4 separate regions of the Homo sapiens genome follow, and regions 1, 3 and 4 are each linked to region 2. Evidence: promoter capture Hi-C in 16 types of primary human blood cells and fetal thymus (Javierre and others, 2016). All regions are on one chromosome and are shown on one strand. The core of a region is centred on a gene start or on the middle of the fragment in contact, and the rest is flanking DNA. Distances in the headings are between cores, read along the strand shown.

The links. The method cuts DNA at HindIII sites, captures the fragments that hold promoters and counts their contacts. A CHiCAGO score of 5 or more calls a contact.
Region 1: a contact is called between the fragment with the promoter of JADE2 here and a fragment that was not itself captured in region 2, in 1 of 17 cell types (monocytes). The highest score is 5.5, in monocytes.
Region 3: a contact is called between the fragment with the promoter of DDX46 here and a fragment that was not itself captured in region 2, in 5 of 17 cell types (total CD8 T cells, fetal thymus, naive CD4 T cells and 2 more). The highest score is 8.7, in total CD8 T cells.
Region 4: a contact is called between the fragment with the promoter of TXNDC15 here and a fragment that was not itself captured in region 2, in 3 of 17 cell types (non-activated CD4 T cells, naive CD8 T cells and fetal thymus). The highest score is 6.9, in non-activated CD4 T cells.

Annotation. Positions count from the first base shown.
Region 1 is chr5:134,524,300-134,526,999 of GRCh38, forward strand. JADE2 (jade family PHD finger 2) reads left to right here and starts at 1,371. Exons shown (of 12, transcript NM_001388185.1): 1 at 1,371-1,712. It overlaps LOC124901070 (a long non-coding RNA gene), which reads right to left and starts at 1,303. Exons shown (of 3, transcript XR_007058942.1): 1 at 1,167-1,303; 2 at 607-784. RefSeq lists silencers at 141-460, 1,041-1,090, 1,111-1,330, 1,461-1,540, 1,571-1,830 and 1 more. The HindIII fragment of the contact is 6,085 bases long and covers 1-2,700 here.
Region 2 is chr5:132,960,029-132,962,748 of GRCh38, forward strand. The region is part of intron 1 of AFF4 (ALF transcription elongation factor 4); the gene reads right to left. Among named protein-coding and RNA genes, the nearest start is that of AFF4, 2.2 kb to the right of the region's middle. RefSeq lists an enhancer at 633-1,134. The HindIII fragment of the contact is 1,630 bases long and covers 561-2,190 here.
Region 3 is chr5:134,757,506-134,760,205 of GRCh38, forward strand. DDX46 (DEAD-box helicase 46) reads left to right here and starts at 1,274. Exons shown (of 23, transcript NM_001300860.2): 1 at 1,274-1,450. The coding sequence starts at 1,434. RefSeq lists an enhancer at 1,049-1,538. The HindIII fragment of the contact is 1,728 bases long and covers 539-2,266 here.
Region 4 is chr5:134,872,964-134,875,663 of GRCh38, forward strand. It overlaps TXNDC15 (thioredoxin domain containing 15), which reads left to right and starts at 1,408. Exons shown (of 5, transcript NM_024715.4): 1 at 1,408-1,567. The coding sequence starts at 1,465. It overlaps LOC124901071 (a long non-coding RNA gene), which reads right to left and starts at 2,435. Exons shown (of 2, transcript XR_007058943.1): 1 at 2,281-2,435; 2 at 1,868-2,169. RefSeq lists enhancers at 1,084-1,133, 1,154-1,443, 1,375-2,080, 1,974-2,043 and a silencer at 1,684-1,793. The HindIII fragment of the contact is 3,704 bases long and covers 528-2,700 here.

The DNA.
Region 1 (2,700 bases), core at 121-2,620, 1.6 Mb after region 2:
CGCGGCTCCGGGAACAGACCCAAGGCCCCGCCACCGCCGGCTAGCAGCCCGACAGCCCGCCCGCCTGGCGAGCGCAGGCTCTTCTTCCAGAAACTGCGAGGATCCGAGCGTACTGTTTGTGCACCACAAGGTCAAGTCGGGAAGTGGAGCCGGAGGAGGAGGGGCGAGGAGGCGAAGGGTGGGGAGAGGGGCGCCCCGCTTCCTCGCCATGTGCCAGCCTTTGGAAGTTACCCCTCGGTTTTTAACCCTTTCGGGGTAATGGGAAGGAAGAGCAAGGAGGAAGGGGTCGCCCCGGGGCAAAATCCTGCTGGGGCCAGGATGTGCAACCACCCACCCACCCGCTCATCACTGCCTTCTCCACCCCCCGGAAATGCGGGGCAGCGCTAGGCGCCAGGAGGCACCCGGGAGGGGGGAGGGGGCGACGAGCCCAATGGGGACCCTCTCTACGGACCGCCCCTCTTTTCTTGAGGTCGCCTACAATTTCAAGTTCCCCCGCCCGGAATGTTAGTTTTCCATTTGGAGTGGGTGCGGGGAGGAGGGCCGCGCCCCCTCCCCAAGACTCGCGTTCGCCCCTCCACTCCCCTCCTGCCAGCACTTTCTGCTCACTTCTGGTGCTGCAAAACGCCACGCAATTTATTCGATTCGCATTTTAAAACCAGCGATTCAGAAGCAGGGCCTAGGGCGAGGGTCTTCCAGCGCTGGAGCCCCGGGGGGCGGGGTGCTCAGTGCAAACCTCGTTCCCTCCGCGAGTGTCGCCTCCAGGCTGTTATTTGCAAAGAAACGTCTTTTTGACGCAGGGAGAAATGGCAAATTTTAAGTACGTCATTAATATGGCGCCAAAAGATTTTTTTAAGTATAAGCTCGCTTTTTTTTTTTTTTAAGGTTGCGGGGGGCGCCGCCCGGGTCTGGGGCGCGTAGGGGGCGGGGTGTGAGCAGAAAGTGTGAGTGAAAGAGTGGAGGGGCGGGGTATGTGTGTGAGTGTGTGAAGTGTGAGCAGACCTGATGGGACTTGCACGGGCGCAGCCGCCGCTCGGGCCCGGCCCTGGGGACAGGGCGGGCTAGGGGCGCCCCAGAGTCCATGGGGAGTCCGGGCCCAGGGTGCCAGCAGGCGTGGTGGTGGGGCTGCGAGGGAGGGCACCCTTCCCCCACGGGGCCCGCAACGCTACCTGGACTCCCCGCCGGAGCCAAACAACTGGGCGGGGGGTTGGGGGGGCGGCGACGGGGGTGTCGGGAGCGGAGATCCGAGTGAATAAGAAAAAAGTGGCTACTCCCCCTCCCTCGCTCCTCCTGCCCGCCCCCACCCCACCCCCACCCCAACACATTTTTTTTTTCTAAAGAGATCACAAGGAAGTCTTGGTTTAAAAAGAAACAGAAACATACACAGGGGGTTGGTGAATGGTGCCGACCGCGGCCATCGCAGTTGGAGGCTATTTTTTGGGGGGGGTGAGTAGCGTCCATGGAGTTACTTTGCGCCCACTCCTAGCGGCACCGGCTTAGGTCCTGCGGGCCGACCGTCCCCGGCGGGGGGCGTGGGGCCTGGGACGCCGCGGGCCCGGCCGCCTCCCTCGCCGCGACCCCGGATGGATGCGCGCCCCCCGCCCTCCCGCGCCGGCCCCAGGAGCTCCCGGCTTCGGGAGCATCCTTCCCGCGCCGGTCCCTGCAGCGGCGCGTAGCCGAGGGCAGCGCCCGTCAGGGGGGCACCGCGGAGCAAGGTAAGATCCAGCCCCCGGCGGATGGGCCCTGCGCATCTCCACGACGTTATTTGGCGTTTTTGCAACAGATCTGCCAGCGCTCTTCGCTCCCTCGCTCTCTCTTGCTCGCTCGCTCCCTCTCTCTCCTGCTGGCTGCCTGTTCTAGGAAGCCAGCGCGGAGAGGGGGGGGATGCACAGCACAGGGGAGAGAGATTGCGCATGTTGGTCAGTCGTGTTTTAAAGAGTACAGTGCGGGGAGGCTGAGAGGGGCGCATGCAACAACAACTTTTGGAAGGGTGAGCTTGGCGACCTTCTTTATTAATGACTGCGGCAAAGCGCCCCCGGGCCGGCGAGGGGGCGCGGGCGGGCGGGGGCGCGCCAGGGCTGCAACTTCCCCGCGGGCTCCGGCCGGGCGTAGGGGCTGCGGCGGGAGATGGGTACGGTGGGGAGGTCGAGCGGCCCGGGCGGGGGCTCCGAGAACCTGGAGCTATCTGCCCTCCTGTCTCCCCGAGTTTCATTTTGTTGATACGCAGCACGTCCGGGCGCCGAACCGGGCTGAGCCGGTGCACATGACCTCGCGCTGGGCTCACGTGCAGCCGGTCCGGTCCCAGACACCTTCCGGGGGCCACCGCCTCCGCCCTGTCGCCCCCTCTCCCGGCCCGGTGCACGCGGGCGCTGCACGCGGGGGCAGCATGCTCGGCTCCTGGGGTTGGAGGCTCTGCACAAATTAGACAGTTTTTTTGGAGGGGCGGGGGACACCCTTTCCAGGTGAGTGTGGAGGGTGCGGAGCCTCGGCGCCAGGGGTGAGGACTGGGGTCGGGGGCAGCCTCCACCTCCGGGGCCGCGCGGTAGTCCAGCTGGGGAGAGGCGCTGGGAGAGTGGAAATGTACCGGCGGCGGCCGGAGCGGCGGGTGCGCGCCCGCGGGGCGACGGCAGGGGGCGTGGCCCTTGTTTACCTTCTCCCAACTCTGCCGGTTCGCGTCCCGCTTCAGGGACGGATCCGCAGTCC
Region 2 (2,720 bases), core at 126-2,625:
ACAGGCATAAGCCACTGCGCCTGGCCAGTAGGAGCGCTTTTCTTAAACCAAAGGAAAAAGCAGCAAGGTAACAGGTCAGGTTAGCTTTAGGCAGTCTTTAGTCACTACACCTTCTTTCACAATAACTGAGACTAGCTAACACCCTCCCAGAAATCAAATAGAATTGTTCCAACTTATCAGAGGAAATGAATAAGGGAATGGGTAAAACATAATAAGGATGCAGGAGAGCTGGGAACCTTTATATCATATAGAAAAGTCTTCATAGTGAGATATCTGTAGAATAAAGCTAAAGTAAAAAAAAATCTAAGTCATCAATTTTTTATAGTACATGCTGTACTTCTGGGTCATTGTCCAGGTGTGCTCTCAATACTTAAGAATACCTCTTTGATTTTATTAAAAATACCACAAAGAAAAGTCCTCATAGATTTTGAACTCCATTCTAAACCAGTGGATGGCCACAAAGGAAGAAATACCTGTTTTATTTGTTCCTCTCAGGTACACATAAAACTACGGCATTTACCTTACCTTCTCAAAAAAGGCAAAATATATAACTTTTAGAAAGCTTCATCTTCTGTCTCATCTTCTGAAACTGACAGGTTTTTCCCTTTCAAATACTGATCCTTTGCTCATACAGCTTTCTTTACATTACCTTTTTGTGAAATCTTAGATAAGTTGATAGAACAACAATTTCAAGTTCAAAATATTATCACATTCAAATTCAATCTAGTAATTGTGTAAAATACTGAGGAAGATAAAAAGAGGAATAAATATAGTACTTCCTCAAAGACCCTGTAACAGATCTGTAAGAAAATTATTATGCATCCCTCAATATCTGCAAGAGACAGGGAAAAAAAGAAAATTACAGTGCAAAACATATAGTAGGCTTCTGCTTGTTTGAGACATCGCCTAGGTTGGCCGGGCGCAGTGCTCATGCCTGTAATCCCAACACTTTGGGGAGGCCGAGGCGTGTGGATCACGAGGTCAGGAGTTCGAGACCAGTCTGACCAACCTGCTGAAACCCCGTCTCTACTAAAAATACAAAAAACATTAACTGGGAATGGTAGTGTGTACCTGCAATCCCAACTACTCAGGAGGCTGAGGCAGGAGAATCGCTTGAACCCAGGAGGCAGAGGTTGCAGTGAGCAGAGATGGAGCCACTGCATTCCAGTGGTGTGATCTCGGCTTACTGCAACCTTCGCCTCCCAGTTCAAGCGATTCTCAAGCGATTCTCGTGCCTCAGCCTCTGGAGTAGCTGGGACTACAGGCATGTACCACCATGTCTGGCTAATTTGGTTCTCATGCCTCAGCCTCTCAAGTAGCTAGAACTACAGGTGTGCACCACCACACCTGGCTAATTCTTGTATTTTTAGTAGAGACGGGGTTTCATTATGTTGGCCAGGATGGTCTAGAACTCCTGACCTCAGGTGATCCGCCCACCTCGGCCTCTCAAAGTGCTAAAGTGCTAGGATTACAGGCGTGAACCACCAGGCCCGGCTGCAGAATATATTGCTACAAAAAGGGTACAATAACTCAAGAGTACACAGAAGAGAATGTATCAACCTGAATGTGAGAATCTGACAAGTAGAAAGTGACTCAGAACAAAAATATTCAATCTTTAAGAATTCTTAATTACACAGCTTCACCTTACACTCCCAAACTGTAGATCATGTTCCAATTAACACAGCTGGGCTCTTTTTTCAGACACCCCATCTTGTCCCCACTTGAAGCAAAATTTTATTTAAAGTAAAATTTGCCTACTGTTTCTAGAGAGTTAACAAAAATCAAAGTACCAGCCTGCAAACCACCGCAAATTGAATGAAACTGCTGGTAATAAAAAAAGAAAAATTTGACTGCTTCCAGGTTTTTAGTAAGTTAACTCTGAAAGATAACTTAAAATAACTTACTGGGAATTTTTCTTATATTTAGGAGCTGAAAGATGCAGTGATAATAAGGAAAACGAATCTGAGAAATTTAAAGAAGCCAGCTTTGTTGAAAACCAAGTGGCCACTTGCCAACACTTCTTTATGCACGTATGACCAAAGATGATTCTAGGCAGACTCACAGACCACAAAGGCTCTTTATCAAATCCCAAATTAAGAAAGTTCTCATAAATATTTCAATTTTGATAAGTTAAAGACCAGTTAAGTTTTAAAAAGCACTTTATGAAGTGCAGAATCAATACAGAAACGAAGCTTTGCGCTTTTCATATCTGAGCCCGAAAAACAGCACACATTTTATGTTACATTTACAGTCTATTCACAGACACCTATAGCTTAGATTCCATCAAGAAAAACACTGGTCAATGGAAAAGTGACTGGCCTTAGTATAAAATTTCCATGTGGCCAGCAGGGAAGAAACCGCATAATTCTGAATTACAACTGACAAAACTACGAGAACCCTAAATCGAACTCTTCGCCTTGAACTCCATATACAAACATTTCAGATTCGTACTTCCACTTCCTGAAAATAATACTGTTTGTAAACGAAAAGGCAATAAGGTTACTCCCAAAACTCCTGTACTCCATGATCCATCCTCAAAGAGTGGAAGGAACAGCAAAGTAGAAGGAACAAAGCACTGACGTCAATTACGAGATTAACCCCAAGCACAGGCAGCTGGAGGAAAGGCCTAAACATCAATATCCACGCACAAGCTACTGGGATAACTAGGTAACAGACCGATTCAGAAGTTGTAGGGGAGGGTATTCGAGTATTATACCCCC
Region 3 (2,700 bases), core at 24-2,523, 1.8 Mb after region 2:
AAATTCAACATTTCTGTGTGTGTTGCATGAGACAATACATATACATTTTTTTGGTGCCCAAACTCTCGAATAATGTTCTCAATCTTGACTGTACTTCAGAATTACCTGGGAAGCTTAAAAATTCCCAGTGCACAAGAAGCACTCCAGGCCAATTAAATCAGAACATAGGGGTGGAACCCAGGCTTCTATTTTATTTACTAATATTTTAGAGATGAGATTTCTCTGTGCTACCCAGGCTGGAGTCATCATAGCTCACTGCAGCCTCAAACTCCTGGGCTCAAGTAATCTTCTTGCCTCAGCCTCCCTGGCTCAAATGATCCTCTCACCTCAGCCTCCCAAGTAGCTAGAACCACAGGCGTGCCAGCACACCTGGCTAATTATTTTGCTTATTTTTTGTAGAGGGTCTCGCTATGTTGCCCAGGTAGGTCTTGAATTCCTGGGCTCAAGCCATCCTCCTGCCTCGGCCTCCCAAAGTGCTGGGATTATAGGCATGAGCCACCATGGCTGGCCCTTTTTTTGTTTTTTTGTTTTATTTTTAAGCTTCCCAGTGCAAGCAATGTTGAGAACTAATCTTTTGCCAAAGTATTTTTAGCTCTTTGTTCTCTACTAGGTTAACACCTACCGGGTCTTCAAATCTCACCTCAGAGTTCACTTCCAAGGGAAACGTGTTTTCTGAATCCGTCTCCAATGGTGGACTCTCCTTGCTGTATTACTTCTGCTTGTGTTTTTAGTCAAGTCTATTATTATTACTATTTTCTTTGCAGAGACGAGGGCTACGTTGCCCAGGTCTTGAATTCCTGGGCTCAATAGATCCTCCCGCCTCAGCCTCCCAAAGTGCTGGGATTTCAGGCGTGAGCCACTGTGCTGGCTTTAGTCATCTGTTTCCCGGATAGACTGTGAGCTCCCCAGGATCTAGCACAAGCCTGGCATATGACAACATAAATAAATGAGTGAATGTATACATGAATAAAGAGCGTGTACGGAGAAAGTTGCCGCATTATTTAGCGCAAATTAAGGCAGACATCAGCCTGCCCAGGACGCCTCTTTGGCTCTGGCGCGAAACACCCTCACGGGCCGGCGAGGCTGACGCGCTGCGCTCCATCGCACTAATCAGCCGGGCGTGGTGCGGGCGCCGGGAAGACTGGGCGGGGCGAAGGCATCACCTTTCGATGGGGCCGGCGCTGTGCGTCCTCCAGTCGAGGTGGGGCGCTGTGGAAGAGCGGCAGCTTCCGGTCGGCTTTTCTCTTCCTTCGGCTGCCGGCGCCAGCACGTCCTGTTTTCGTTGGCCGCGCTGGGATGGCCGCCACAGCTGTAGGTGCTGCTAGTGTTTAGCGCTGGTCTTTGCCGGGCGTTGAGGGCAGCTCAGCCTCCTTGTTTGTCCGGTTCGCCTGTGCGTGGTACTCAAGGGCACCAGTATTCCCGCGGTCGGCAGCATGGGTCGGGAGTCACGGTGAGGCAGAGCGCCGAGCGGGCTAGCGGGCGAGCGGCTTCTTGGGGTCGTGAGAAGAGGCGGGAGTTGAGGTGGCCGCCGGGCCAGGCCTGGCGCGGCCCCACGTGCGGTCAGCGCTGCCCCGCGAGCATTGGAAGGGCTGGGGGACCTCGGCTGAGGGAATGGTTGTGTTTGGGCCAGCGACGGCTTCCCCTGCACTACCATCAGAGGGTTCGAGCCCCTGGAGCGGGAACAACCCTCCAGGACGTTAGTGATTGGGCACCACATCCCGCCACTTCAAGGGAGCCTGCCCTGATTACTTCAGTCAGAAGTGATCCCAGTTGGATTGCTTATTGCTTCGCGTTTCCAACATTTCCTCGACTCCTGTCATTCTGTATTTTAGTTCTTTGTGCGCGTATGATCTTTTCCCAAGTTACTTGAAAGGAGCGTGTGGGCAGACATTTTTACCGCATCGACAGCACTATACACGACTAGGCTTTTACTGGGCTACAATAAATACTTGTTGCGTGGGCATTTACTTCGCAAATAGATTTCGTATTTAAGCAGGTAACTTTGTTACCTGCTTTTCTGTCCTTTTGAAGTTGTGGACTATGAGCTCTTATTAGAACTCATTAGATCTCATCACAACTTTAGATTGTTGATAGATTGTTAGGAACCTTGAGATTTTTATGTTAAAAATGACTATTTGCTATGTATTTAGCAATGACTGAAAGATATTTTATGTCTAGGAACAATGAAGGCTTTTGTTGTTAGTGCTAACAGTTCTTTGTTGAGGTACAATTAACAATCAGGGAAATGGACAAAACGTAAGGGTAAAGCTTGATGAAATTTAGCAAATATATAAACCGTGTAATCATCACCTGGATGAAGATAAAAAATATTTCTTTAACTACAGAAAATTCCTGTGACGGTGTTTTAAATCTCCGGAAGGCTGTCCAGACCAGAAATCTGAAAGTGATATTTATTTGACTCATTCTTCTCTCTCACTACCCACAGCCTGTTAGATTCTACATCCTTTGCCCATTCTGGTTGTCCCTGACTTAATTGAGGCCCTAATTATTTATTGTCCAGACTACTACATCTGTTTTAAATTGATTCTCTGAATTGATTGTCTTCCTCTGTTGCTCTCCTAATTGTTAGATCCCTTACACTACAGCCAGAGTGACACTTCTGAAGTAGAGATAAGATGATGGCATGCCCCTGACTTAGTCTCCATTGGTTTCTACTGCTTCCAAGATGAAATTTAAACT
Region 4 (2,700 bases), core at 158-2,657, 1.9 Mb after region 2:
ATTGTTTCATATTCTTCTGGACCCACAAGATGGCACTTGAGGATCTACAACAGCAAAACCATACCAACGTATTTAGAATAAAAGAATCATCCACAGGGACAGATTAATGATGCATCTTTCTGGCCTAACAGTGTCTTTTTGATGGGCATAGAGATAAGGGGACTATGGCCACACCATCAGAATTGTATTATTCAATTAATAATGCCTACCACTTTGAAATGCTTCCTGTGCCCCAGGACACTGTGCTCATCACTTTACATCTCATTTCATCTATAAGACTCTATATAACGTCATTTCCACTTTACAGCTGAAGAAACTTAACTTTAAGTTACATAACCTGCTGACTGTGAACTATCACATGTGCTGAAGTTGGGATTCACCAAGCGGCCAAAAAGCACAGGTTCCCCTTACCATTGCTATGTTAACCAATAGACTGATGTATTTTAAATCAGTTTCTATTTTTTCAACCTCATAAGTTTGAAAAGCTGCACTCTGCACTGATTTAGCACTGACTGGTGGCTGCTTAAAGCTTGCCTTATTCCATTTTAGCAGGCCCCCCGGCAAAATACCCCAATTAGTGGTGTCATCCTCTCTATTCCAAGAATTTTCTCTTAAGACTCCCGCTCTGTGCGTTTGCTTGGGAATGCAGAGCCCTGTTCCTCATCTCCCCATCTATGCTTTCTTCATTCTAAGCCCTTTCCTATCTACTTTATGCTCGAGGTGGCTCCACCTCCACCATGAGCCAGAGCCAATGATGCTCACGGCCCCAACCATGATTAAAAAGAGATTGCCCTGCAAGGTAAATCAGTTAAAACCAACCTCTCCTGCCCTGAGTGGATAGGTAGGGTTAGGGTTGCCAGATGTCACGAAGTTACAGGATGCTCAGTTTTAAGGTATATCCCTTATACTATAAGGGTTATAGTAAAAAATATTCATTATGTGAAATTCAAATATAACTGGGTATCAGGTATTCTATGTGGCAACCCTAGGTAGGGGAGCACAGGTTAGGCAAGCGATTAGAAGATTTGCAGCCTCCAAAGTTTCTGCACCTCGATGGGACACTAGAACAGGAAGGCTCCTGGGCCTTTCTGGCTCTGGGAATGAAGCGTGGAAAACCCTCCTTAGGCGGGCGCAGTGCTTCAAGTAGCCAAGCTCTGACTTCCGAGGGAAGAAAGGAGGCCATGGGCCTCTGCCAGAGCCATGCTCTGCACTCTGGGGTCAGCAGAGTTCAAAACGACCTGCAACGTCTGGCGCTTAGCTCCTAAAGAGGTCTCCAGTCCAGCGCCGACGGCCAGCGGCTAGAGGCCGTCCGCCCGACTCCAAGATGGCGCCCGCCACAGCTGCCAGGTGTTAAGATGGCGGCGCGGGGCCGCGCCCGCGCTCCCAGGCTCTCCTCCCCCAGCCTTCCTCCGGCTGGCAGCACGACTCGCGTAGCCGTGCGCCGATTGCCTCTCGGCCTGGGCAATGGTCCCGGCTGCCGGTCGACGACCGCCCCGCGTCATGCGGCTCCTCGGCTGGTGGCAAGTATTGCTGTGGGTGCTGGGACTTCCCGTCCGCGGCGTGGAGGGTGAGTGTGGGCCGGGGGCGGTGCATGAGATGATGGGGCGAGCTGAGGTCCACCCGGGCGACGCTCTGGACCTGCGCGAAGGCCGGCGGTGCGCGACTCGCCCCTTCTTGGCGTCTCCCCGGGCGCGTCTCCCCGACTTCTCTCCCCGCGCACCGCCCGCTGGTGGCCCGCGAAAGGGGGCCGGTGGGCTGAGGGCCGGTGGACGGGAGCCCGGGGGTGGTTGGGCCGCGTTCAGGCCGCCCTCAGCCCGTGGCTGGTAGCCAGGAGGGACAGTGCGGTAAGCGCTGCTGAGGCATACCCTCTGGTGATAAGCAATTTATTATTAATAACATTATATCAAATACCGACATTGTTGTGGCCGTATTAGGAGCCAGGAACTGTGCATCGTGCTTTATTTACATCATTATCCCATTTAATGCTCCCACAAACCCTGTCAGATCGGTTCCGTTTAGTGTCTCCATTTCACAGATGAAGATGCTCAGGCCCCGCCTAAGTTTGCGCTTCTGATACGTGGCAGAAGCCTGTCTCTCTGACGCCAAAGCCCAGTCTGGAGTCCACGCTGCTGGACCACTGTCTTAAGGAGGCCAGTCTTGCTCAGCTCCCTGCATGAAAAACAGACGAGAAACACGGGAGACTCCCGGTAACCCCCAACTTGCCGGTAGGGAAGGCAGCCACTCTAGAGGCATGGCGAGGGTGGAGAGTGGAGGCCTTACTTTCATGCTCCTTCACCCCACTCCTCATAGTCCTGTTAAAGTCCAGACCCTCGGTCTCGCTTGTCATTTAGACCTTAACAGGAATAGGCAGGTCTTTCTTTTCCCTGGGGTGTCCTGGATGGAGGCAGGACAGCAGAGAGTTGTGGAGAAGGGTGAGTCATAGTAACACAATTACCATGAATGAAAGCGCTCACTGTGTACCAGATGCTGTGCTCAGTGCTTTACGAGCATCATCTTTTGGAATCTTTACTGTTTTGTTTTTGTTTTTTTAAGGGATGAGGGCTTGCTCTGTTGCCCAGGCGGGAGTGCAGTGGCCCATCATGGCTCCCTGCAGCCTTGAACTCCTGGGCTTAAGTGATCCTCCCACCTGTTTCCCAAAGTGCTGGGATTACAGATGTGAGCCACTGCTCCCGGTTTATG